Linked DNA regions of Homo sapiens: regions 1, 3, 4, 5 and 6 are each linked to region 2. The links are contacts of gene promoters, found by promoter capture Hi-C in human tissues and cell types (Jung and others, 2019). All regions are on one chromosome and are shown on one strand. The core of a region is centred on a gene start or on the middle of the fragment in contact, and the rest is flanking DNA. Distances in the headings are between cores, read along the strand shown.

Evidence for each region. Contacts are between HindIII fragments. The study calls those that stand out against the background at their distance.
Region 1: a contact is called between a fragment that was not itself captured here and the fragment with the promoter of ABCC12 in region 2, in 2 of the 25 tissues and cell types used here (dorsolateral prefrontal cortex and spleen).
Region 3: a fragment that was not itself captured here is called in contact with the fragment with the promoter of ABCC12 in region 2 in 5 of the 25 tissues and cell types used here (IMR-90 fibroblasts, dorsolateral prefrontal cortex, lymphoblastoid cells and 2 more).
Region 4: a fragment that was not itself captured here is called in contact with the fragment with the promoter of ABCC12 in region 2 in 3 of the 25 tissues and cell types used here (H1 embryonic stem cells, adrenal gland and dorsolateral prefrontal cortex).
Region 5: a contact is called between a fragment that was not itself captured here and the fragment with the promoter of ABCC12 in region 2, in 4 of the 25 tissues and cell types used here (IMR-90 fibroblasts, dorsolateral prefrontal cortex, lymphoblastoid cells and 1 more).
Region 6: a contact is called between a fragment that was not itself captured here and the fragment with the promoter of ABCC12 in region 2, in 4 of the 25 tissues and cell types used here (H1 embryonic stem cells, IMR-90 fibroblasts, dorsolateral prefrontal cortex and 1 more).

Annotation. Positions count from the first base shown.
Region 1 is chr16:47,506,171-47,510,527 of GRCh38, forward strand. All of the region lies in intron 4 of PHKB (phosphorylase kinase regulatory subunit beta), which reads left to right. Among named protein-coding and RNA genes, the nearest start is that of PHKB, 47 kb to the left of the region's middle. The HindIII fragment of the contact is 3,671 bases long and covers 1-3,108 here.
Region 2 is chr16:48,153,931-48,158,754 of GRCh38, forward strand. ABCC12 (ATP binding cassette subfamily C member 12) reads right to left here and starts at 2,063. Exons shown (of 31, transcript NM_001393797.1): 1 at 1,911-2,063. RefSeq lists an enhancer at 4,047-4,824. The HindIII fragment of the contact is 12,201 bases long and covers 1,692-4,824 here.
Region 3 is chr16:47,619,509-47,623,759 of GRCh38, forward strand. All of the region lies in intron 14 of PHKB (phosphorylase kinase regulatory subunit beta), which reads left to right. Among named protein-coding and RNA genes, the nearest start is that of PHKB, 160 kb to the left of the region's middle. The HindIII fragment of the contact is 7,108 bases long and covers 1-4,251 here.
Region 4 is chr16:47,581,756-47,585,998 of GRCh38, forward strand. The region is part of intron 8 of PHKB (phosphorylase kinase regulatory subunit beta); the gene reads left to right. Among named protein-coding and RNA genes, the nearest start is that of PHKB, 120 kb to the left of the region's middle. The HindIII fragment of the contact is 5,115 bases long and covers 1-3,950 here.
Region 5 is chr16:47,482,118-47,486,372 of GRCh38, forward strand. All of the region lies in intron 1 of PHKB (phosphorylase kinase regulatory subunit beta), which reads left to right. Among named protein-coding and RNA genes, the nearest start is that of PHKB, 23 kb to the left of the region's middle. The HindIII fragment of the contact is 9,826 bases long and covers 1-4,255 here.
Region 6 is chr16:47,533,705-47,538,314 of GRCh38, forward strand. All of the region lies in intron 6 of PHKB (phosphorylase kinase regulatory subunit beta), which reads left to right. Among named protein-coding and RNA genes, the nearest start is that of PHKB, 75 kb to the left of the region's middle. The HindIII fragment of the contact is 5,027 bases long and covers 169-4,610 here.

The DNA of each region.
Region 1 (4,357 bases), core at 23-2,522, 650 kb before region 2:
GTGAGACTCCGCCTCAAAAAAAAAAGAAAAGAAAGAAAAAAAATAATAAAAAGAGTGATAACAAGTCTTCTTCTTCAGGCCTGTAATTCAAGTCAAAATAAAAAAAAATCATTAATATTCTGCTACTAGAATATGGCAACAAGAAAATGTTATAGAGAAAAAGTATATTTATTCATAAGCTGATAATAGAGACATATGAAAAACCTTTAATTTGTCTATTGAGATTTGTACAAATCAATATTGCAAAGGTTTTTCAGATGCTTGAAATAAAGTAGTATGTCACAGATTGACATACTGGAATTAAACTAGTATGTCATATGTTATGTTGAAATAATTGTGATTAAAGTTAATTTTTTCCTAAGTGTGAGATGTTATTGTTTGTTTCATTTGTATCATTTCATGAATGCATAATGTCTTTATGAATTCAACTTTTCTCTCTAGGACACATTGTGAAAATCAAAATCATGACTTTCATGGGTTTGCCAAACAAGCTGACAAAGTAGAATTATCAGAAGGAAGTCTAATAATGTATTAGTTTAAGGCAGGGGTTTCCAATCTTTTGGCTTCCCTGGGCCATATGGGAAGGAGAAGAATTGTTTTGGGCCACACATAAAATACACTAACACCAACCATAGCTGATGAGCTAAAAAAAGAACAAAATTGCAAAACAAATCTCATAATGTTTTAAGAAAGTTTACGAATCTGTGCTTGACTGCATTCAAAGCTGTCATGCTCTGCTGGTTGACAAGCTTGGATTAAGGTTTTTTCCTTGTGGCACGGTTAGCCAGTTGGTTTTTTTATTGTTGTTTGGCTGGTTTTTTGAGACAAGGTCTCTCTGGGTCACCCAGGCTTGAATGCAGTGGTGTAATCACAGCTCACTGCAGCCTTGACCTCCCAGGCTCAATCAACCCTCCCACCTCAGCCTCCCAAGTAGCTGGGGCTACAGGCATGCACCAACACACCCAGCTAATTTTTGTATTTTTTGTAGAGACAGGGTTTCTCCATGTTTCCCCAAGCTGGTCTTGAACTCCTGGGCTCAAGCAATCCTTCCACCTAAGCCTCCCAAAGTGCAAGGGTTACAGGCGTGAGCCACCATGCCTGGCCAACTTAAGCTACTTTAAATTCCTTAAATTATAAAGGATTATCATTTTTTTTTTCCTATGTAGCTATGATGTAGACCATTAGCACCTGGCCATTAGCCAATTGTTAGTGGCCTTTTCTACTGAGATTTGACTTTACAAAGGTGTTTTGACTTTATAATGGCATTTCTTACTCAACCTTATTAACCAGTCATCACAATTGTAATATGTTTTCTTTTGATACAGTTTGAGTGTGACCTAAGGTTGTTTTTGTTTTTTAATTTTAAAAATAGAGACAGGGTCTCACTATATTGCCCAAGCTGGTCTCAAACTCCTGGGCTCAAGCAATCCTTCCACCTCAGCCTCCCAAAGTGCTAGGATTACAGGCATGAGCCACCATGTCTGGCCCAGTTAAGCTATCTTACATTCTTTAAATTACAAGGGATTATTATTTCTTTCCTATGTAGCTATGATATAGACCATTAATGTAAATATGAAATGTAAGGAGTATATTATTCTAGTGCATATGAGTGTGAGGGACTGACTCAGGGAGATTGAAGCATGCACCCAGCTCAAAGCCTCTCACCATACCTTCACATCTTGTTGCTGCTTGCCGTTCTTTTCCTCCTGTCTTGGCCATTTCCTTTACAATACTGTTGCAAGAGGAAATATAAACATATCTTGAAATGTGAAATATTTCTGTGTTGGTCTTCCCTTGAAACTGAAGCAAAGCACATTAGTAGTGTTCATTCACTGTTTGACCTCTAGCCTCATGTTGTCTTTTGAAGTAAAATCATGACCTAGAAAGTCTCCCTTCTCCACTTCTATTGATTTCTCATCATAAAACATGCTTCCTGATGTATTTTCTAAAAATACTAGCTAAAAGAGATATTTTAAATTGATTATGAATTTGAGTGAATACAAAGACTTATTCTTGATTTATTTAAAGAATTTAGAGCAGTCTGTTTTCTGGGTTTTATTGTCTTGACACTTATCTTAATGCCTGCTTATTAATGTCAGCTATGTTTTACCTCTCAGTGTGCAGATACCTATTCTCTTATTTACTGTCTTTTATAATTCTGCCTACAGAGAGGCATTCAGAGTTTTTCAGAGTTGATTCAATCTGCAATTAGTTTGGAGGGCAGACATTTGCTTTATAATAGGCTATAAATGTTGCTGTATCTATCTACTGAAAATTTTTTTTAAATGCTAGTTTCTAATTAATGAGAAATCATTAACTTTTATAAAATTTATTTTTCCAGGATTCCCTTATGAGAAGATTTTTTTCTCTAAATGAATGTTTTAAGGCTATAAGTTAAAAATGGATGACAAAATACTCAATTACCTCTTCCCAAATGATAAACTGTTTATTCACAATAATAAAAGTTTTCAGGAAAAATCTAAGCAAAATACGAGTGGAAGAGGCATTATTCTAGATTTATTTTAGTCTAGAAACTTTTGCTTTAATTATTATCTTTATTTTTATTTGCCAGATGCCAGAATCATACAAAATACTAATTAGCATCCTCTTGTTTTTGACTGCTTTCAAGAGAACTTTTTGTTTGTAATTGACATACAGCATGCCCCATTAATCTTCAAAGCTTATACTTTGGACCTTATTTTTTTCTGAAATTTTAAATTACTTGTCTTTTAATGGCTTTAAAACTCAAAATGTACTTATGTAATCCCCCATTTGAGCAACTTTAATCATTTAGTAGTTGCTTTTCCCCTGACATAGTGATTGAATATAAATTGTCCTGCTGGGTTCTTGCATGTCTTGAAGACAAATGACAAACACCACCTTGTCAACTGCAGGAGTCACTTTATTAAACTGATAAAACCTTATCCTTTTAGATCTGTATCAAGTGGTTAAAATGTGTTTTGCTTCAATTTTACCTATTTTTTATATAGGAGCTCAGAATAATATTCAGGACTTCAAGATAATAGTGCAAAAAGAGTGACCACATTGATTTCTATTTGTGTAGGTTCAGATTACTGCCAGCAGTTTCAGATATTGAGAAGGGATAGTCATCTTCTCTGAATTAACACCAGATGGCTTTGTCACTTTATCAGTAGAGAACTTACATCCCTAACTGTACCCATTCTCTAGGTCCTGATTACATACTGATAGGTTCAGACTTTTATTTTGCTGATTAGGTTCTTTAATCATAAGGAGGGCTGTATTTGTTTGTGTAGGGCACTTGGAGATGGTAAAGATGTAACCTCCCTCTAGAACAATATTGCCCAATAGAACTTTTTATGAGCATACAAATGTTCCATATTACTCTTGAGCAATACAGTACCCACTAGTGACATGTGGCTATTGATTTCATGAAATGTGGCCATTGTGACTGAAGAGCTTAATTTTTTATTTAATTTAATATAATTAATTGTAATTTAATTTAGTCAGTCACATGTAGCTAGTGCCTACCATGTTGGACAGCATAGCTTCTAGAAGCTTACAAGATATTGGGACTCTACAGCTATACTGTTTCTCTACTAACAACACTTCTGACACCAAATGTGTGGATTTTCCATACCAAGCAGTTCTTGAATTTGAGACACCAACTGGGTATATACAGTTTGTTGCAATTCTTCCAGTAATGACCTGGAGTTAAAACAGATCCTATAGGTTCAGACTCAGTCCCACAAGACTACCCCCGGCTTCCGACACCAATTGTAAGTAGTAGATCCCCAGGCTACCCACAATTCTCTCTGACTTGGCTATAATAATTCCTTGGTGTCAATACTTTGTTATAACAGCTCACAGAACTTGGGAGACACTTTACTTACTATTACCAGTTTGTTTTAAAGGATATAAGCAAACACCAGATGAAGTGGTAGAAGGTGCAGAAGGTCCTGAGCACAGGATCATCTGTCCCCGTGGTATCTGGGGTGCATTACCCTCTTGGCATGCAGATGTGTTCACAGACCCAGAAGCCCTCCAGACATCATCATCTAGGGTTTTATAGCAACCGTGTTATGTAGGCATGATTGATTAAATCACTGGCTATTGGTGATTGACTCAATCACCAGCTTTTCCTTTCTGCACGTCCCCTGAAGTAAGGAGTGGAGGTGAGGAGCTGAAAGTTCCAACCCTCTGATCCCTTGGTTGGTTCCTCTGTCAATCAGTCCCCCATCTTGAAGCTATCTAGGGACCTATCAAGAGTCACATTATTAGCAAAAACTCAGGTATGGTTGAAAGGGACTTATATGAACAAACGACATTCTTTTTGCCCCTGTTGCTCAGGAAATTCGAAGGGTTCTTGGAGCCGTGT
Region 2 (4,824 bases), core at 813-3,312:
GGCTAACGTCTCTATCCCCGTCTGTCACGCCATCCTCTGCCAGGAGTGAGGAGCTGCCTGGGGTGAGAAATCTGTTTGCTGGCAATCACAGGATGGGGTCTGAGGGGTACACAGCTGATGAGAGCTGGGAGGAGGCAGTGCCAACCGGGCCAGGGTCCCTGCAGCCATCATGGCTCTGTTCTTGGCATTGTGTTTTCCATGCAGAGCATCTGAGGGTTGGCAGGAGATGCCAAAAAGTCACTGGTGCACCCCTCTGCTAGCAGGCAGGGGGTTCCTAACCTAACCTCAACAGACTGGACAGGCAGAAGCAGGAAGGCCTCTGTTTAGAGCACAGGACACAAAGACCATGTACAACTTGCAGTTCCATTTTATATGGCCTGCATAGTTTAAACATTTTTTTCCAATTTGTGGAAAACATTTAAAAATGAGGAGATACCACATTAAAAAAAAAATAAGACTGGCTTCTGGCTTTCGTCAAATATCAAGAGCTCTGTATGTTCATGTGGTGACAATCCACTTACGTTGAGCACGGCAGCCCCTCCTGGGCAGGGTATACATGCTTTAGTTTGCCACAATCCCCACCACTCCTTACTGTCTCTGTGACTCTGAGATTTGGGGTCATGTAACATTTATTATTGCATTGGCACTGCTGTCTTCCTTATAGTGTTTCCTGAGGCCTTTTTCTCTATCCTTGTCTCTGCCCCAAGAGAGAACAAAAGATGTCTAGAAGTCATCTCAAGAAGAACCATTTTCCACACCTGCCCACTTTGCTCTGTTATATTTCATTTCTGCCCCTGTCTAGCCCAGAAAATTAACAACTTTATGTTTGAGAACTGGACTCTGGGTCTTCCTTGGTGCTCATGATGGGAGTTCCTCCATCAACCAAAAGCAGGCACACCTTTAGTCATAAAATTTTTCCCAGGTATGAGACTACAGCCCTACTTCTTTCTTAATAAATCCATTGTTAATTTAAAGCCACCAAAGTTATCAATATCTGATGGTCTCCCCCAACTCCCACAGCCCCTTCCTCCAGGGCCTGACTGGCCTCCAGCACAGAGGAGACACTGGGGAGCTCTCCCAGGCCCTGCCTGCACCGCACCTCTCCTGTCTGTCCCCAGGTCCCAGGCACCTGTGGCAGCCAGATCAGAAAGCCCTGTGAGTGATGAGGGACTGGGGTTGGGAGGCAGGGAGAGGCAGAGAGGTGGCAGAGGGAAGTGCATGCAGGGGACAGCACCAAGCTGGGGGTGTGGGAAGGGAAGTGGGGGTGCTTTTGCTCAAGTACCCTCATCTCCCAGAAGGCCTAAAACAGTGGCCAGTGATGGCATCTCCAAAAGAGGTCATCCATCCAGTTACAGACACATTCCGACACGATCAAAGAAGGATGCAGAGCCTGGATTCAGAGCAATTCAAATCTACCCTCCCAGGAAAATAATATATTTAAAAGTTAAAAAAAAAAAAAAAAGAAAGAAAGATGAAAACCTCATATGAGAACTGCAGTAAAGCTTTCCAGGTCTTTTTTTTTGGGGGGGAGGTATAAATCCCATAATTAAATTGTGAACACTACCCTGTATATGTGTTTGTGTTTGTGCATGTGTGGGAAAAGACTTAAAATATTCAATGTAGGCTTTTGTATTTCAGAGATTTTGAAATCGCGTCTTGGCATTTCTGCCTTTTCTTTTATGATAGCGGGGGCTCCAAAAGTGGAAGAGGGGCTGCCTTTCTTCTGGGAGCCTCGTCCCTGCTGCCTCCCACTTGGGCAGCCCCATTCAGTGGTGTCACCTCCCCCAAACCCCCCACCACACACACACACAGCCTGTCCTGAGGATGAGAAACAAAGGCCCTTGGGACTAAATGGTGGCCACTAATTGTTACAGGGAGAAGCTTTACCTGGGCTGGAAATGAAGCTTTACCTGGGCTGAGGATGAGAGGGAGGGGAGGAGGGTCAGCAGTCATGGGGCTCAGAGCCTGGCATCTGCTGCCCAGGACTCCAGGGCCTGCTTCTCCCCAAGGACCTCAGATTCAGTTTCTCTTGTCCCACCCGCCTGAAGTCCTCCTCTCCAACTGCCCCATTCAACTGCCACTCCCACCACACCTGAGAGGGAACTCTGGCGGGCCAACATTCCCTCTGCCCACATTAAAGGGCTCTCCCCTCTTCCAGGATGGCCTGTGGCCGGGTCTGGCTCTTTGGTGACAGTCAGAGCCCATGCATGAAAGCACTGTGCATGGCCAGCCCTTCCCTGGCTGTCACAGCACATCCTTGTAGAAGAGAAGGAGAAAAATCCTCTCTCCAACCGTCATTCTACAGACGAGAAGCCCAAGGAACAGAAGCCTGTCCACGACTGGCGTGGGGCTGAGACCAGCACCCAGGTCCCCTGAGTCCCACTCCAGGCTCCTTCCTGAGAGAATGCATCGAATTTTCTACGCTGTGTTCCTGCAACCGGGAATCAACTTTGGGATCAGGGGAAGGGAAGGGAGGGGAGGGGAGGGCAGGGGTAGGGGAGGGCAGGGGTAGGGGAGGGCAGGGGAGGCGAGGGGAGGGGAGATGAGCCTCATCTTCAAAACAGAAAATCTCATTCATTCATTCCCCATTCATTTAACGAAAAAGAAAAGGGTAATTTGAGCTCAATTTGTCTTGAAATGAACGGAAGGTAAGTCTGAGACCTGCACTAGCAGCTAGCCCTTGCATAGAAAAGTTCCCCTGTGTCACCCTTGGAACCCTGCACATCCCGAGCGCAAGCGTGATTCCCGGGGTCCCTTCTGCGCCTGTCCCAGAACAAGCGCCCGATTTCAGGGGAGCCCAGCCGAAGGGTTCCACAGCGCTCAGCGAGCCGGCTGGGAGGGAGCAAACTCTCTAACTGCAGAAAAAAACAAATCTTGATTCCGCTTTAAGGGTTATTTAAACATCTTAGAGGACCTTCCCAGCCTCACGCACGTGGATTTCATGAGGAACTTGGCCGCTACCTTCTCCTGTCCTGCGCAATGCCGCCCCCTGCTGGCTGCCTTCCGGCCCCGCCGCTTCCTGGAGATGCGAATTCACCGCCTTTGCCCAACCTGAGTTCCCTTCCTACCTAGAGGGAGGTGGAAATGGAGAGGGGCTGTGGGCAGCTGTGTAGGAAAATGGGTCCTCCCAGGAAGGCTCCCCGGCCTGGGGAGTGAGCTAGACCGACAGCAGTTTCCTTACACGTGTCCAAAGTGTTCCATTTAATTTCCGTCCATTCTTCCCTTCATGAATGCAAATCACTGCTAATAATATCACTCGACATTTCTGGAGCCCTTTGTGTATCGCAAAATTCTTCATCCTCTTTATCACTTGATCTTCGCAACAACCCCGGGGGTCTCATAAACACAGCAAAGACTCGCTTCCACAATCTTCCAAACGGAGTCAAGTGCTGTCAAGTTTATGGAGGAAGAATGCCGATCAGTTTTCCTCTATCTCCATGAAAGGCTGGGCGGAGATGGATTTCCACCCAGACAAACAGTATTGGGCGCTACGCAAGAAGATTGGTGGGCCTAGCCGGAAACAGAGTGGAGAATGATGGAGAGGGACTGTCCGGTCTGTATCCAAGGAAGTCCTTAGGAAAAGACCAGCCAAGCTCCTGTTCCAGGCAGAGCGTGGACTCACCCATAGTCAGGGAACTGAGGCCCATCCTGGGTGTACACACAGCTCGCGGGGGGGCGAGATAATCCACTGGAATACAAAAAGAAAAAAAATAGAAATCCTTTTCATATTTCTCCTCTTCCTTTAAAAATTCTATTTTGGCTGTGTGCAGAGGCTCAGGCCTATAATCCCAGTACTGGGGGGCCAAGGCAGGTGGATCACTTGAGCCCAGGCATTCAAGACAAGCCTAGGCAACATGGTGAAACCCCATCTCTACTGAAAATACAAAAATTAGCTGGGCGTGGTGGCATGTGTCTGTAGTCCTAGCTACTTGCGAGGCTGAGGTGGGAGTATGAATTGAGCCAGGGAAGTCAGGACTGCAGTGAGCTGTGATCGTGCCACTGCATTCAGGCCTGGATGATGAGAGTGACTCTGTCTCAAAAAAAAAAATTGTGTACAGTGATATACATGTGTAGGGGAGAAAAAGTGTGATACTTTTCCTCACCAGTCATGTGGGTCATGGCTGACACTCTTGTAACAAAAGGCAGACTAACAAAAGGAAAGCATAACAATTTTATTTCATCAAAGTTTAATGTGACATGTGAGTCTTCAGAAATGAATACCGAAAGGCTCAGGAAGAACTGTCCATTTTTATGCTTAGACTCAATGAGGAATGGACAGTGGTATAGAAATGCGATTGGACAGAAAGTTCTGATTAACTGTAATGGACCGAGGTGATGGGATGGGGACCCAGCAGGGCCTGTCTGTTCAGATTCTTCTTGGCCTCTCTGCACAGCATTTCTTCTTTCTAGGTATGGGGCACGACCCCTCTGGAATGAGGGTCTTAGGACCTACTCTCAGACAAAGTTGGTCAGAGAATTTCTTTACGGCCAGCTCCTGTGCAGAAGGGTGGAGGAAAGTTTGAGTCATAGTTTTAGGTTCTATCGGTGGCTTTGGGGGAAGAATTTCTATGACTCACCTTGGGGAAGGGGAACTCTGGTTTCTATGACTCACCTCATGGGAGAAGAGGTGCACAAGGGGTGCAGGAGGGCAGGAGAAGGTCAGAGAGAACTTGCTTCTGAGGCTGCTTCTGAGGTCATCCAAACTCCATCAGTTCAAAGTACTCAGCCTGCCAAAGTGCCATACTTTGGGGTATTGTTGTCCGAGCCTCAACACATGTCCACCCTGCACATCCTTGTAAATAACTATACATGCATAAATTAGGG
Region 3 (4,251 bases), core at 804-3,303, 530 kb before region 2:
TCCACAAATCTATAACAGTAATTTTAGTAGGGATTTTCTTCTTCCTTATCCAAAGGAAAACGCTTTCAGGAGGTGTTTACTCCCTCTCCCCATTCACCCTAACTTGTTCCTGTTAAAGGGCCCATCATCTTCTGTTGCCTAGGTAATTCTAGTGCCCACTGATTATCTACGAATGATACCTTCGTTGTTCATACTGCAGCGCCTCTGCCATGCTAATGTGAGATAATGGTTTCTTGAAGAGTGTTTGTTTCCAGCCTTTGCAGCTCATTCAAACTTGGGAGAGCTCTGGTTGCAGCAGAAACTGCAAGCAGCTGGCCATATGCATTTTATTGATTTATTGTATTTTGCGTTACAGTTGTCCACTAGGTATAAGGTGACCCTTAGAGAACATCTATTTATAGTAACTAGGGGTTGGGTTTCTGGAGTTCTATAGCAAATGGACTTATTTTTACATGTGTATTATACTAATTAGAATACAGAAGATTCCTGGTTAAATAGGAAAATACACCTAATACCTTTTTAAATGTTTTTGGAATATTGTCTGAAACTATTATATTTAACAGGCAATAGCCAGCCAGGAATTGCTTTTTTCTCCCTTCATTTTGTTTTTAAACCAATTTAAGAAAAATTGATGTTTTTTCTCAAAATAGATGTTGTTGGATGCAGCAGAATTTTTACATAAATAAGCCATTCTAGTGTCAAAGGAAGAATTATAGAAAAAAATATTCTGATATGAAAATGCTATTTCAATATTCAAGAGTACAAATAGGAAAGGTTTCATATTGTTGGATGTTCTGCCTAGCAAAATGGTTAAGAACACAGGAGGCACACTGCATGCTTCTGAATCCAACCTTGGGCTTAGCAGTTGTTGTTACTTGTATTTTGATAGTTCCAATGCAGACATGACAATTAATTGAGGTGCCCAGTAGTTAATATAAATAAAAGATGCAAGATTGTATTCTATTGAACATGGTTCATGGTGGAAATTAACCTATGGGAGCAGACAATTCTTGGAAGGCCAGGCTCCAGGCTTCATTCTTTCCCACAGTATAGGTAATGCAGATGCTGGAGTAAAGAGATGTTCTGGCCGGGCATGGTGGCTCACGCCTGTAATCCCAGCACTTGGGGAGGCCGAGGCAAGTGGATCACGAGGTCAGGAGTTCAAGACCAGCCTGGCCAACATGGTGAAACCCCGTCTCTACTAAAAATACAAAAATTAGCCAGGTGTGGTGGCGTGTACTTGTAGTCCCAGCTACTCGGGAGGCTGAAGCAGGAGAATTGCTTGAACCTAGGAGGCAGAGGTTGCAGTGAGCCAAGATTGTGCCACTGCAGTTCAGCCTGGGCAACAGAGTGAGACTCTGTCTCAAAAAAATAAAAAATATAAAAAAAAAGAGATGTTCTAGGAAGGGCAGGACAGTATAATCTAGCAAGAAGTTTAAAATGGTATAAAGTGTAAAGAATTTTGATTTCTTGGTTCAGGAAGGCTGACTACCTCATTGGCTGGGAGGAGCAGCAAAGCACTGGCAGAAATTCAGGTACTAGTTCTTTAGACCTTGTGTGATTCACTGCAGTATAATCTGGGGAAGGACTCCTAGCATCTCTGGAGTGTAGTTCTCTAATCTGTAAAATTATTTGGCTGGGTTTAATTCGTAAATCCCCTTCCAGCGCTTCTGTTGCTGGCTTCCATAATCTAGGTTATTGGTAACCTTTAAGTGACTTTAGTGGAGTAGTGTGCCCAGTCGCCAGACTGTAGGGAGTTAAAAAGGAATTATATGGTGGAAGACCATCTGCTCAGGAAGTTGAGTTTACTGCAATCCAAGAAAGGTTATAAACCCCTCCTAATTTGGTAGATACATTATATAGCACTCCTACAATATGGACTTGTAGCGATTTCCCTTTTTAAAGTTTTGTTCTAAATCTATTCAGTTTTTAAAGATTTATTAGTCTTTAAAAAGATTTAAGGATATTTAAGGTGATTTAAGGAAATCATGCATGTGGCTCAGTTTTATCTGGCTCAGTGTGTTCTAATGCTCTCAAATAGTTTAACCAGTTTGAGACATAATTTCTACTTAAAAGATTAAAAAATAACAACAACAACTTCACTAGCTTGGCAAAGAAATAAAGCGTTTGTGTGGGACCAAAAACCCAAGCATGGGAGTGAATTTGAGTACTGAATAGAAGTTCTTATGATTATCTTAGTAAAACAGAATAAAATAGTCAAGGCATCAAAGATGCTTCTGAGAGAGCCTAGCCTGAATATGCCACAGCCGCACAGAGTTTCTCCTCAGGTAATTCTGTCTGCTGTCTTGAAGGGTAATGAAGAGTCTCTTATCAATTGGTATTTATACCTGAGCCAATTAAAATTCAATGCCTTGATAAAAAAAATCCAGAACTGAGAAAAGTTGAATTGGAAGTCAAAAAAATGAGCTTAAACACATTTAATAACATCATTCTAATTAACCCATTTAACCTATTAAAATTAAAAGTTTCAATAATAGGCATGATGTATAATGAAATATTTCATCTACAGGATGGAAACTTCTTATACTCATGGCTAAAATGTAAAAGAAGGAAAAATAGAAGTAAGAAAGCAAGATTTATGGTCCAGAATAAAGATATACAAGGATTATTATGATCTAGTATTGTTTTAATGAATCTATATTTCTGACATTTTTCTCTAAGGAAAGAAATCTCAGTTATTCATAAATATGAATAAATTTGTGAACTTAACCTGAAATTTACCTACTTCACGTTTTTTCCTGTTTTGAATCTATTCACATTTTTAAAGGTCTAGTGATCTTTGAAGAAAACCTATCAATTAACGCCTTCTAGCTCCACCTTGTTTAATAATCTATATCCTGACAAGTTGCCCCCTTCTAAAACAAAGGATTGGGCTTTGGGAGTGTCTACTTTCTTGAGGAATGATTTTTCTCTCATGAGGTCCTTGGAGAGTTCCATGTATTTTTGCTGTCATGCAGGTGAATAAAATACAAGTATTTTTGGTCAGCTACTTGAGGCAATATTTTACTTTAATGGCAGAATTATTATGATAGAGCAGATCATGTGTATTGACACACCCTTGAGAGAATTCAGTTTCGCATTCAGTGACACCCAAGCTTTGAATCTGTGAAGTAGACTAGCCCATTTAATATGCCAATTAAAATGGATTGATCTACTTTGACAGTCTTTGGAGAAAAGGCCAATATGAAAGGAATGCTTTTTAGTCATAAGAGCTTATTTTCTGTGCTGCAAGTTTCCAAATTGAGGATGAAAGTCAGTACTTGTTTGCTAAATCATGTACATATTTATATAGATCTCAGCTAAAAACATATAGTACACTTGGTCTCTCATTTTTCAAATTAATGAGGAAGTGGGAGTTTCATGCTTTCTCCTCTAAATATACAAATGCATAGAATTTTGCATGAATTACTTTCTTAAAGATCAATGAACACTGCATATATGTGTAATAAATTTTTGTTTTTAAGGAAGTAATATAGTATAGTGGCTTTGCATCTCATACAGGCCTAGCTATAAAACCTGTCTCTTCCACTTATTAAATGTGTGACCTTGGACAATTGAATTAATCTCTCTAAGCCCCACTTTTGTCATATTTTAAATGGGAATAATGATCCCTAACTCAGGGTTGTGTTTATGATTAAATGATAGTTTATGTAAACCTCTTAACCAAATGTCTGACACATTATGCAAGCTAAATAAATATTATTGCTGTTTTTTATTTCAATAATTTATTATATAAGTAATATTTCTTTCTCATTAAAGAGATGAGAAAAAATCCTAAAAAGTCTAGAGGAAAACATTATATTTTCAACATTTCGGATATATTTTTTAGTCTGTATTCAACTTAGAAAGAAATTGAATGTTTAGCATTTAACCTGTTAGATTTCTTTTATCCCTTTGTGTGATTAAGACTATCACTGTATAGACAGAAGCCATTGTTTTAATGGCTTTTGAACTTGGTTTTTTTTTTTTTGGTTCCATTTTTTAATGGAGCTAATTTTTTAATTAGCTCCATATATTGACAGTTTTGATTTTTTTTTTTTTTTTTTTTTCTTGAGACGGAGTCTTGCTCTTGTTGCCCAGGCTGGAGTGCAATGGCTCACTGGAATCTCTGCCTCCCGGGTTCATGTGATTCTCCTGCCTCAGCTTCCTGAGTAGCTGGGATTACAGGGACCTGCCATCATGCCTGGTTAATTTGTTTTTGTATTTTTAATAGAGATGGAGTTTCACCAG
Region 4 (4,243 bases), core at 143-2,642, 570 kb before region 2:
TGCGACCTCCGCCTCCCGGGTTCAAGCAGTTCTTCTGCCTCGGACCCCCGAGTAGCTGGGATTACAGGCGGCTGCCACCACGCCCGGCTAATTTTTGTATTTTTAGTTGAGACGGGGTTTCACCATGTTGGCCAGGCTGGTCTCGAACTCCTGACCTCAGGTGATCCACCCATCTCGGCCTCCCAAAGTGCTGGGATCACAGGCATGAGCCACTATGCGCGGCCGACTCTTGTTGCTATTATTTATGAAGTAATAGTAATACAAAGGAAGGGAAATGAGAAAGAACTGAAAGCTTTCTAGAGCATATATCAAGGAGACTGAGAGGAGGCATGGATTAAACCAGAGCTGATGTTAACAGCAGTCTGGAAAGGTACAGGTCTTGCTAACCTGGCTTCTGTGACATACCAAATACTGAGCTGAATGGAGCTGAGTGTCTCTTGGTTGGCTGTTACATGGTAGTAGCCAGCTCTTTTTTGCAATAGTGTCATCTCCTTTGAAGTACCTGAGTCTTAGTGTATGTTGCTTACATACCTGTATGCACCCCTTCCTATTGTGTGTATACTCACACACATACATACAAGCTACATTTCCTAACTCTACCCATCTTTCAGTGCTCTACTTTTCCCAGGAAGCTTTCATAAATTGCTCAGCTATAATTCTAAAATCGCTAAATTACTTTACTCTGCATTTGGATTCTGAGTTATAACTGTATTGCTGATATTGTTCCTCAGCCAGTTTCTCAATCTTGACTATGCATTGGAATCATTTGAGGAATTAAAAAAAATACTCATATATGAGCTCTACTTCCAGGGATTCTGATTTAATTGGTGTAGGGGGAGGCCTTGGCATTGAGATTTTTTGGAACTTCTCAGGAATTCTAATATACAATCAAGGGCGAGAACAACTGCTCTAAGCCGAGTTAATTTTTGGCCTTGTTCAGGTCACGTCTATTTCCAGTGGAGCTATGCACCAAATATTTGCTGAATTGACTACTACTTGATTGTTTCAGATAGAAATATGGACAGATAATGTCTTCTTTCTTTCTTTCTTTCTTTTTTGAGACAGCTTCTTGCTCTTGTCACCCAGGCTGGAGTGCAGTGGCACGATCTCGGCTCACTGCAATCTCCACCTCCTGGGTTCAAGCGATTCTCCTGCCTCAGCCTCCCGAGTAGCTGGGAGTACAGGCATGTGCCACCACACCCGACTAATTTTTGGATTTTTAATAGAGGTGGGGTTTCACCACGTTGGCCAGGCTGGTCTTGAACTCCTTACCTCAGGTGATCCACCCGCCTTGGCCTCCCAAAGTGCTGGGATTACAGCCATGAGCCACCACGCCGGGCCATGTCTTATTTCTTTAGCCACAAGAATATCACATGTTGCCAGTAAAGTCCCTTCATCTTCCATTTTTACAAGGTAGTGTCAGTGTCCTTGTTTTACAAATTCCCTTTCGTCTCTTTTTTCTGATGTGGAGAATTGCAGAAATATGACTTTGAAAATGTTACTATTACCACCTCTACAGCAGTTAAATTAATAATGTGCCTGCTAAACAGTGGCACATTTAAAAGTGCATGTGATCTTTTTAGTGTTTAATCATTTTATAATGTCATTGTATATACTTAAAAGAGCTGTGATCTAATTAAAAGTCAGTTGCTGGGAAAAGAATTGACATAAAGAAATGCTTTTATTCAAATGAAAATCCATAGAAACCACCTCAAGACTTGAGGGATTTCAGATCATATTGATATTCACTGTTATTTCTAAAGGCCATTGGTATAAGGTTTTGGAAGACCTGATCGTGTGTCTTTAACTAAATTAATTAGAACTTTCAAAAAGTACATTCCTTCTTGGTGGCAACTCAAGAGAGATGGTAGAGCCCCTCTCTCAAAATGAATGATCGGAAGATTGAGGTAGTGTTTCTCAGATCACACCACACAGGGGCAAAACCAGGAGTAAAACCAATGCCACTCCATAATGAATCTATTAATAGAAGATCAATTTGTTGGTATGGGAAATTTCAGCTGTTGGACACTTTCTACTTTTAGAATTGGGAGCTGTGCATTTTCTTTGAAAACTCTTAAGCTGTTTTTTGCTTAATAATTATTGAGCTTCTGAAAGAGGTATCCATTTCACAAATAGTGTGAAAGGCTTGCCTTTTGCCCCTGGCTTCAGCATATGAGATAAAACAAATGTTAATTTTATTTTTACGGGCAGTTGTTGGGTGGTAAAGTTTTTTGCTTTGGTTATGATTATTATGCGTTCCTATACTTCCTCCTTTTTTTCCAATAATAACTTATTATTCAAGGAAAAAAAAAACACTTTAAATCTTTTTCTGAAACTATTTTCCAAATTTATTTTTCTTTGGGACACTGAGAATAAGATGTGATAAAAAGGCCTAGTTTCCATAATGATTTGTTTACAATAAAAGCCAATTTGGGGCAGAGCTACATTTAGAAACATATATAATCCTCAATATGGGAATCACATATTTCATCATGATCTCAAATATATTCTGTATAAATTTCATGACAAATATATTTAAATATTATTTAAATAATGTTTGATAATATTTAAACAGTAATATTTTAGTCTATCAGAATTTATTTTCATCAAATGTCATAGTCATAGTAAGCAACAGTTTTGTGATTCCTGGGTTTGAGTCTCAGCTCTGCTCTTTTGAGACCCTGAAAATTCATGTTCAAATTTATCTTTCTCTGTAGTTTGAGAATTCCTTTCACAGTATGTGCATGAGGACGAAGAAGCTTGGGTTGTGAGAGGGGCTGCTGGAAAGAGCTGTTGGGTCAGTAAGCAAAAGTTGGCTATTTACACATCTATTGCCACCACAGCCTTGGTGCAGAAGGGAAATTCCTATCAGTAAATACCCTTTCCGGAAGAATACATTTCTCCAGGCTCTGCTACAGAGCTCAGTGACAGCCTCATAACTGAACTAGGGGAGAAAATCTCCTGACCATAGTTTTGCGGTGTGGTTTTGTTCCAGAATAAGAATGTGAAGATCATGTACGATAGGTAGATCCAATGACCAGTTGTACCTTGTTTTATTTTTTGAGTCTAGATGAGGGCAGCAAGTCCCTTAGCTCAGGCTCTGAGAAGTGATTAATGAAGAAAAGAAAGATCAGTCTTCAAATTGTTTTCTTTTTAATTGAGACCAGTGAGATCAGCAAAGTCTTATGTTTACAGTTGGTACCCTTGGCCTTAGGGACTGTCTCAAAAGTGGTTGTTCTGGTCATGGGATTAAGGGAAGTGCAGTGCAGCCCTTCCCCACCACTGGAACTCAAGTCCCCATGACAGTGGTCAGGTTTCAGAATCATCTTCCAGTCCCAGTGCATTTACTAGACTAAAACAATTATAGAAACTTGGCTAGGGAGTAAAGTTTGAGCTGTCAGTCTTAAAATAAGCTCTTTAGGTGGAGTCAGGATATTATGGCAGAATTATAATGTTTTCAGGAAATGGAAGATGAAAATAAAATATCCAAAGTTAATCTGATACTCTGAAGTGACATATACATATAAAACATCCTTTCATATTCCTATCCTTAATTGGGGAAATCAAGATACTGACAAATGAGCCGAGACCAGAATCTAAAAGGTAATGACTAGAGAGATTGCTCATGTTATGCAAAGTGTTCAAAGCAGTGCAGACATCTAGCTTCCTTTGAAATTTGCAGGCCTTAAATTAATGTGTCTGATTATTTAAAGTAGGTGATAATTAATTCCATTTGTGGGTTCTCCTTGATGACTCTTAAAAAGACTTGCTTCTGGATTGGGAATAGCTGCCCATGACCTGGGGAGATTTTACCCTCCTGGAAATCTGGACCGTAATGCCTAAAGCATGGGATATTTTTGTAAGAAGACAGCCAAACAATATAGTTAATCACCCTTTGGTCTTGGTGTTAAAATATGGTAACATTATAAGATTATTTTTCCCTTTGGGCATATTTCTTAGGTTGGCAGAGAAAAATTGAGAGCTGAATAAATACTTTGATGAATTTAGACAAATAAGCCATTTATTTACGGCCAGAAAATAGAAGTTGGCTGTTTACATTAATCAAGTAACATAGAGAATTGCCAAATTTGCCATTTCACTTCATTATTTATAAATTATCCTACTTAGATTGTATCTTTTGAAAATTTAATTCCAGGCAGATAGTTTGGTATGCAATTAACTTTATTAATTCTTGGCCTAAAGATAAATTATAGCTCCTATTTTTTGTGTATTCATAGGCTCC
Region 5 (4,255 bases), core at 197-2,696, 670 kb before region 2:
GTTAACGATTATACTATAGGTAGGTCTTTGCAAGGCACTTCCTTAGACGGATTCTCAGGACAGCATTGGAGCAAATCACTGAAGTCTAGGGGTTGTACGTAAGTATAGTGTGGGAAAGGCTAATGCCATCTCTTCCTTGTTTCACTTAGCCAATAAACAAAACTTCAGTGTGTTTCTATTGGAAGAAAATTAACTAGCATTCATTACCTACAAACTCTGTACTGTCCTTCAGAAGTATATCTAGTTTTATTCTGGTTTTTATTTACAGTCAGCTTACTTTGCTAATTTATAGTTTATTGTGTTTTTTCCTGCTAACATTCAAGACTTCCCATATTCATTTTAATTATACAGATTATAATTTCTATACAATTTCTAATTGTAGTAGTAACATTCACATTAAATGTACTGCTGAATTTTGCCAAGACAAGAATATAGAACAGGCTTCATCAAAGTGTAAATGAGAAGTGGAAATGGTTTGGGTCTATTTTTCAAAATGCTGAATGACTTGAAAGTATTACTTCTGTACGACTTGCGTAGAATAATGTATGACACAATAAAATGCCTAATATAACATCTTTATCAGTATAATAACAAGACATAATACAATTAATTTTTTTTTTGAGATAGGTTCTGACTTTATCACCCAGGCTAGAGTGCAGTGGCAGTGATCTCCGCTCACTGCAACCTCTGCCTCCTGGGCTCAAGCGATTCTCCCACCTCAGCCTCCCATGTAACTGGGATTGCAGGCACACACCACCATGCCTGACTAAATTTTGTATTTTTAGGAGAGATGGGGTTTTGCCATGTTGTCCAGGCTGGTCTGGAGTTCCTGGGTTTAAATGACCCACCCACCTTGGCCTCCCAAAGTACTGAGATTATAGGTGTGAACCACCATGCCTGGCCTATTAAATAATTTCTTTTTTTTTTTTTTTTTTTTTGGAGACAGAGTCTCATTCTGTCACCCTGGCTGGAGTGCAGTGGCGTGATCTCAGCTCACTGCAACCTCCACCTCCTGGGTTCAAGCGATTCTCATGCCTCAGCCTCCCGAGTAGCTGGGATTACAGGCGCCCACCACCACACCCAGCTAAGCTTTGTATTTTTTGTATTTTTAGTAGAGACGCGGTTTCACTATGTTGGCCATGCTGGTCTCAAACTCCTGACCTCAGGTGATCCACCTGCCTCGGCCTCCCAAAGTACTGGTATTATGGGTGTGAGCCACCACACCTGGCTCTTTCTGTAAAGATTTAAAGTAGTATATAGTGAAGTTCTTTTCCCCTCCATATAATTCAGTTAATATGGTGAACTAAGACTCTGTCATTTAAGCCTTAGAAGTTTGGAATTTTAAATTTTTACTTGTAGTATAAGTATGAAATAATGACCCTGAGTTTCTCTTGAGAAATCTTATTATGTGTTCAGATTAGTATTATTCTCTATAAAGTGATCCACTTGTAAGGCTACATACGTTTATTCTAGTGGTGCTGCCATTGGTCAAATCGTTTTTTAATCATCTTTTTATATCATTCCCATCTCCGTTTATAAGCAATAGAATAACAGAACATAAGAGAATAGAATAGAACACACTCAATAGAAGAGAACAATGAATTACCTTATAGTTATAGTTAAGGTTATTGATGAGTGAGTCTTCACTTCATCTGCACTGATTCGTCACCTTATTCATTGTGGCTGAGTCACAGTAACTTTTGGTAAGGTTTAGACATCAGAGTATAGTAATTTCATTTTGTTAGTAAATACTTATTAAGCACTCACTATGTGCCAGGCACTGTTGGCACTGGGGTTACTTTGGTGAATAAAACAATTGCCATTTATAACATTAAATAACCACTTCTAAATGCATTTGTTTCCTAAAAAGGAGTTCCAAAACTTTATAGAAAGATTAGAATTGTCAGAATACAGCTCTGACCTCACAGAAATCATACAAAATCATAGTATATTATGGGAAGGTAGTATAAATAAGAAAGGAAAATGAAATAGCTAGTTGAGTGATTGCTATTCATAAGGTCAACACATGAAACATCAACCAGGTTTAATATCCTGAAATAGATTTTATAGGCCATGTTCTTTCTCTAAAGGTCACTGGAAGAACTTAATACCTTTTTATTAAAAATAAAATGGGAATGGTGGAATGGGCTTTTCACATATTATTTGGATAAGTTGAATAGGCAAATTTTGCTTCCTTTTTATGAAGTTATATTATTTCATATTTGCCATTTCTTATTTTACATGTGAAATATGTTTCTTACCCACCTTGCTATCCATCATGGAGAAACGTAGACTCTAAATCTTGAGGGTTCAAATGAAGTATAATAATAAATAGGAGTTGTTAAATAAAAGTATGTATATATGTATGTATGCATATACAAATAATTTTGGAGCAATCTCCTGTTTAAAGCAGAAAGTGAAAGCAAGGATTAAAGGCTCAATGCTTCTCAGTGAAGCATTTTTTTTGGTGAGGTTTCATAGTATAAGGAAAAGTGCACATGTACAGTTTGTCTTCACAGAGCCCTGTTTTCAAATTCAGACTGCCATTTAATAACTTCTCTGTGCCTCCATGTGGTATGACAAAGCCATTGTCATTTATTTATCTAGAGATACCAGTCTCACAGCTTTGTCAGGATGATGGGATGGAATAATGTATATAAACTATCTTGTGCAATGCATAAGTAGTTAGGCATTCAAATTTCCTTTTTCCATTTAAAAAATTGCACAAGTAGTAAATGCATATAATATTTTCATATAGCATTTTTACAATCAGAACTATAAAGAATAAAAATCACACTCCTTTCCCTAGTGGTAATCATTTTTAACAATGTGGTGTGTATCCTTCTAGGCATTTTAAAGTACTTAGTTATCTATATATGCATGTACATTTCAAATGTTATACATATATAGTTATTGTTGCTTAGCTTTTCAACACCTAGGATCATGCTAAACATCTTTTCTTCTGTAACATTACTTTTCCACACTGTATTTAGTCTTTCATAATCATATAGAACTACCTTATTCCTTAAACTGTCTTAACATACTTCATTGAATGAAGGTGTCATAATTTATTTATTTATTCCTCCATTGAGAGCACATTTATTCCATAATATTTTAAATTTCGGTGTATGGTGGAACTGTGCAGAAAATAAATCATGGTTTAAGTTTTGTTTCTTTTGTTCTCAAAGAGATATCAGTCATCTTGAAGATGCTCACAGTGCTGAATCTATGTATAGTATATTCAAATCTTTTTAACTATAGAGGTTAAGATGCATCCATTCTAAAGTGAGGAAGACAAATTTTCCAACTTGTCTAATCATGGAAATCTTGCTCAGGAGGTGGAACTACATTATTAAATCAGAGAATGTGGATGGGACAGTAGCAGGAGATAGGGTAGTCTGTGAGAATAAATTTGTAAACTGGTCATCAAAAGTTTCCTGAACACTGCTTCTTGGTCAGGACTTCATACATAGCAGAGCAACTTCACTGCTTTCTTTGGTTCGTTCGTATTTATTTATCTAGAGATAAGGTCTCACTCTGTCGCCAGGCTGGAGTCCAGGTGCGTGATCTTTGCTCACTGCAACCTCTGCCTCCTGGGCTCAAGCGATCCTCCCACCTCAGCCTCCTAAGTAGCTAGGACTACAGGCGTGTACCAGCACACCTGGCTGATTTTTAAATTTTTTTGTACAGATGGGGTTTCGCCATGTTGCCAAGGCCGATCTGGGACTCCTGGGCTCAAATGATCCTCCTGCCTTGGCCTCCCAAAGTGCTGGGATTATAGGCGTGAGCCACTGTGCCTGGTCCCTCACCGCTTTCTGTTGAAAGTCAGTGGTTGACAAAAGATTAAAAAAAAAAAAGTAGTAAAAAGAAAAAAAAAGTTTCCTGAAACATATTTTGTCAGCTTCTGTCCTTTTTCTTCCTTCCTACTAAACATTTATTGTCACCTACCATGTATTAGATATTGTTCCTGTAATTGATCGTCTTCCAATGTAGTATGGAAAATAACACATTAATCAAATGGTGAAAATAAAATGTATTGTGATCACTTTTGATAAACAAGCAGTGATTAAGGTTGCAGAAGATCGAACAATTAACTGCTGTGGGAATTAAAGAAGGCCTCCCCGATAATGTGGATCACTCAGTTCAGTTCATAAATATTTACCGAGAACCTCCTATGTGCCAGCATTAGAGATCCAAAGTTGAGAATGTATTGGATGACTTGTCCTTTCGCTAGTTTGTATCAGTGAAGGAGTAA
Region 6 (4,610 bases), core at 1,432-3,931, 620 kb before region 2:
CCAAGCCTGCGAGGGCAGGGAGGGGGTTTCTTGGGCCCCCAAGAGTATAGAGATGCCTGGGTCTGCAGCCACAGTTTGGGCAGCCACAGCTGTGCCAGAGGTTCAGGGCTCCTGCCTGCTCTTGGCACCCCCAAGAGCACAGAGAGACCTGGGTCCACAGCCACAACTTGGGCAGCTGCAGCTGCACCAGGGAGGGCGGGGCTCCTGCCTGCTCTGTGGAGCAGGAGGCCTGGGCCCACAGCCACAACTTGGGCGGCTGCAGCTGCACCCAGGATGGTGGGGCTCCCCCCTCCTCCCAGGCCCCAAGAGTACAGAGATACCCTGGTCTTCAGCTGTGGCTTGGGCGGCTGCAGTGGCATCTGGGGAGCTCCCACCCAAGCTCGGAAGGGGTGGGACTCCCTCCTGTTCCTGGCTCCCGCCAACCCCACAGAGCATGCAGCCCGGGTGTACCTACCTGCTGCAGCTGGCGTGATAACAGCAGCCACTCCAGATGGCCCACCGCTGCCATCACTAGCTTAGAGCTTTCTTACTAGGGTACCACAGACAGGTTACAGATTTGCCATGGTAATGAGTCTTCATCCTAAAGGTGTTGGTGGGGCCTGGACTTAGCCATACCTCACTGGCCGATAACCTCTGGCTGCCAGGAGTCTTGTCCAGTTACTTCAATGTATGTATAGAAATAATATTTCTATATGTACCATGATGTCAAAATGATTGGGAAGCTCTTTCCTAGAGACATACTAAAATTTCATTGCAGCACTGTTGCATTAAAAAACTGTTATGGTAGGATTTTAATTCATAAATGTAGAAATAAAGAGGGAAATAGAAAATAACCTTTAGGCAAGAACTGGTGATAATTAGTGTAAACAAGATCCACTGATAAATGCTGAAATTAGTACATAAAATTATGAGGAGAAACAGGATTTATACATAGTTCCAAAGCATTTCCCTCAAGATATTTATTAACTACCAAGGGAAAGGTGATAACATTACAAAGTAGGAGCTACTATAACTAAGTGATCATGGTTGTTACCACCAGCAAGAAGATACATTGACATCATGAATCCTGTGCTATGGTGCTTTAAGAAAGTCACAACATTATTTCTATGATATTCTTGCCAAAAATGCATTACTTTTGTCCATTCATGGGAAAGTATTAGACAAATCAAAATTGAGGGACATGTGGCAGAATAACATAAAATTTATTGAGGTCATAAGAAATGAGGAATGAGTGAGGAAGAAATAAGCTAAGGAGAAATGACAGTGAAATACAAGGAGGACTAAAATTACTTCACTTTGGGTATCAGGGAGAGAGTTTTTGAAGTAAATCAAGGTTACGCAAAGCTTTGTTGTTCCTGAGCAGTTACTCACTGCAGGTAGGGCTCGGTTACACTAAAGAGTGTGTGAAATCATAAAAACCTTAAGCATTTAGCTGTACAAGACACAGGGGAGAAGACCTTTTAATCAGCACTTACCTTCATTAAGACAAATTAACTGACAAATATCTTTTTGAAACTTGGGGAAGAGAAATCCTGAAATGTTTCTAGTGGTAAAGGAACAGTAAATGGAAATCATTTGTATAGTACCCAGTATTACTAATTTAACATGTATAACAAAAACTTCCTTTAAACTTAGCATTTGTGCTTGGTCTGAATTGTTTTACTTTAGTGAACATTCAGTGGTCATTTATAAACTCAGTATCTCCTTATCTAATTTCTCCATAATAAATTTCTTGTTAACAAATTATATTACCATAGATGTTTTTAGGAGCCTATCCCTCAGAATTGAGGAGTTACTATACAGTTTGGTTATACTGATTTATTATACTGATTGTTTTTAGTAACATATGGAGAGAGAGTTAAATAATTGTTTGCTTTTGGAGTTGCAGTGAACTAAAACTGTATTTTATACAATATAAGTCCCGCTCTATCTCTAACTTGTTTCTTAGCACACACACCTTAAATTTTATAAAGTCCATTAAGATTTTGATTTTTAGTGCAATACTTACTCTAATTCAATCTCAAACGTTATTGTTGTATTTCATTTAACTCTGTTTTGAAAGTATTTCAGATATTTGCATTATTGTCTTAATGATACTCTTAAAACATACTGAAAACACCACAGATGACATTTGGATCTGACTGTTCTAGCTCTTTCCAATTAGAAATATTTCTCTACATACTTTTTGCAGAAGTGGATATCAAAGGTACATGCTTTCAAAGCAAGGTAACAGAAATTAGAAATTGGTATGAAGATGCAACAATGGGCTAACAACATTGAGTACATAAACTAGAGTCAGGATTGAAAATAATACACAGAATACCCTGACCATGGAAATGGTTATGATATTTATTTATTTATTTGGAGATGGAGTTTCACTCTTGTTGCCCAGGCTGGAGTGCAGTGGCGCGATCTCGGCTCATAGCAACCTCCGGCTCCCGTGTTCAAGCGATTCTCCTGTCTCAGCCTCCCAAGTAGCTGGGATTACAGTCATGTGCCATCACACCCAGCTAATTTTGTATTTTTAGTAGAGACAGAGTTTCTCCATGTTGGTCAGGCTGGTCTCGAACTTCTGACCTCAGGTGATCCGCCCACCTCAGCCTCCCAAAGTGCTGGGATTACAGGCGTGAGCCACCGCACCCGGCCGATCTTTATTTTTATATTCTAGCTAGCAATGTTATACTTCCTCAAGAGGCCAGTTCTTACTAAATCATAGTATTATTTGTGTGAGAACTACAAGAAGTTTACATTTCTGAGCTCAGAGAAGTTATACAGGACCACAGTTTCTTATGTGAAAAAACATTTAGAACCAAATATGTTTTCGATTTCAAAACTTGCTGGATTTAAATAAAAGTAATACTGTTTTGATACCTTTTATTATATAGTAACCCCAGCATGGCTTAGGGCAGAATCTGCACATTAATATTTTTGCAGTAAGATGTATACATATTCACACAAAGTGAGGAACATAAGGCAGCTAATCTCATCTCAGTTCTGGGTTTTGCTGACAAATGAGTTAAGAAAAAACAATTGGATTTCAGAACTTGTGGCATTTTAGAATTGCAAATAAGAGATGGTAGACCTGTGTACTAGTTAGAGGTGAGAAAAAAAACACACTTGGAACAAAAATTAAGAGCCGTGGTCTTGGCTCTAAGTATAGTGAGAGTTAGGAGAAATTAGAGACTTCACTAAGAAAAGTTTTGAACGGGGGCTGAAGGAAGATTCATAGAAAAGTGTTTTCATTTGGAAATGAGCAAGACTAATGGCCATCCAGCCCAATTAGAACCCAGGTTCCTGTCGGAGGATTGTGGAATAAATAGAGTTCTGTGGGGACAGGGTGGGAAGATTATATAGAGGATTTGAATGTCAAATATGAGAATTGTAATACTCTGTCAGAATTCACGAAACTTTTTTGATTAAAGAAGCAATGTGAAAAATAGCAGCCTTCCTGTGGAATGAATATGGGGTTAAAAGGAAACATAGTAGTGTCAAAAGACAAAATTGCAACAATTCAAAAGATCTAATTGACTTATTAGTGACTCATGAATCAGTGGCGTTTCTTCCAAAGATCTAGCAAAGGCTCTCCAATGAATTATGCTTAAGAGGTTGGCTTCATAGGCAGAAAAGGGCTGAAGAAAGCAGAAACAGGGAACAAAAAGCTGATTGGTTGTTTCAAAGTTACTTTCCTTATAGGATTAAAGTAGAAAGGACTTCTTTATCATGCCAGCTCAGGGAAACTGGGCCCCTTCTGATTGGCTGCTGTGAATCTCCTGCTTTTGTTTGTTCGTTTTTCTTCAGAAAACTGGCCCTTTTCAATGTTCAGTTTGACTGTGTGTCACCTAGCATAAGTGACTCCATTCTGGTTTGGTCTGGTTTCTTGGGCCTACTGCAGGAGCTCAGTCCAAATCAATGTCCTCATATAAATTTTATTGAACAGTAGTCAAAGTTGATCTCAAGATTTCTAGACTGAGAGCCTGGAAAAGAGTGGTCTGATGGGGAAAAAAGCAGAATTGAAAAGTGCTTCTTGGTGGAAGGGTTTAGAACATACTGTTTAATGGGAAATTCAAGTGGAAATATTTCAAAGCAAAGGTACAGGTTATATGTATTCAGGATTAGAATGGAAAAATCACTGAATTGTAAGCAGGTATTGTAAACATACGTGGAAAATTCTCTCTCTCTCTCTCTCTCTCTCTCTCTCTTTTTAAGTTGAGGCAAGGTCTCTCTCTGTCATCCAGGCTGGAGTGCAGTGGCGTGATCACAGCTCACTGTCCTCAGCCTCCCAGGCTCAAGCAATCTTCCCACCTCAGCCTCCCGAGCAGCTGGGACCACAAGCATATGTTACCATGCCCAGCTAATTTTTTAATTTTTTTTGTACAGACAGTGTCTTGCTATGTTGCCTAGGCTGGTCTTGAACTTCTGGGCTCAAGTTAACTGGCTGCCTCAGCCTCCCGAAGTGCTAGGATTGTAGGCATGAGACACTGCACCTAGCCACAAAGCTTTAAACTTAGAGACCTGAAAAACTATCAAGTATTTTCTGTTGTGTTATAAAATCTAAATAACTTTGAAGACCATGAAATAGCTAACATCATGAAAGTGAGCAGGTTGTTTAC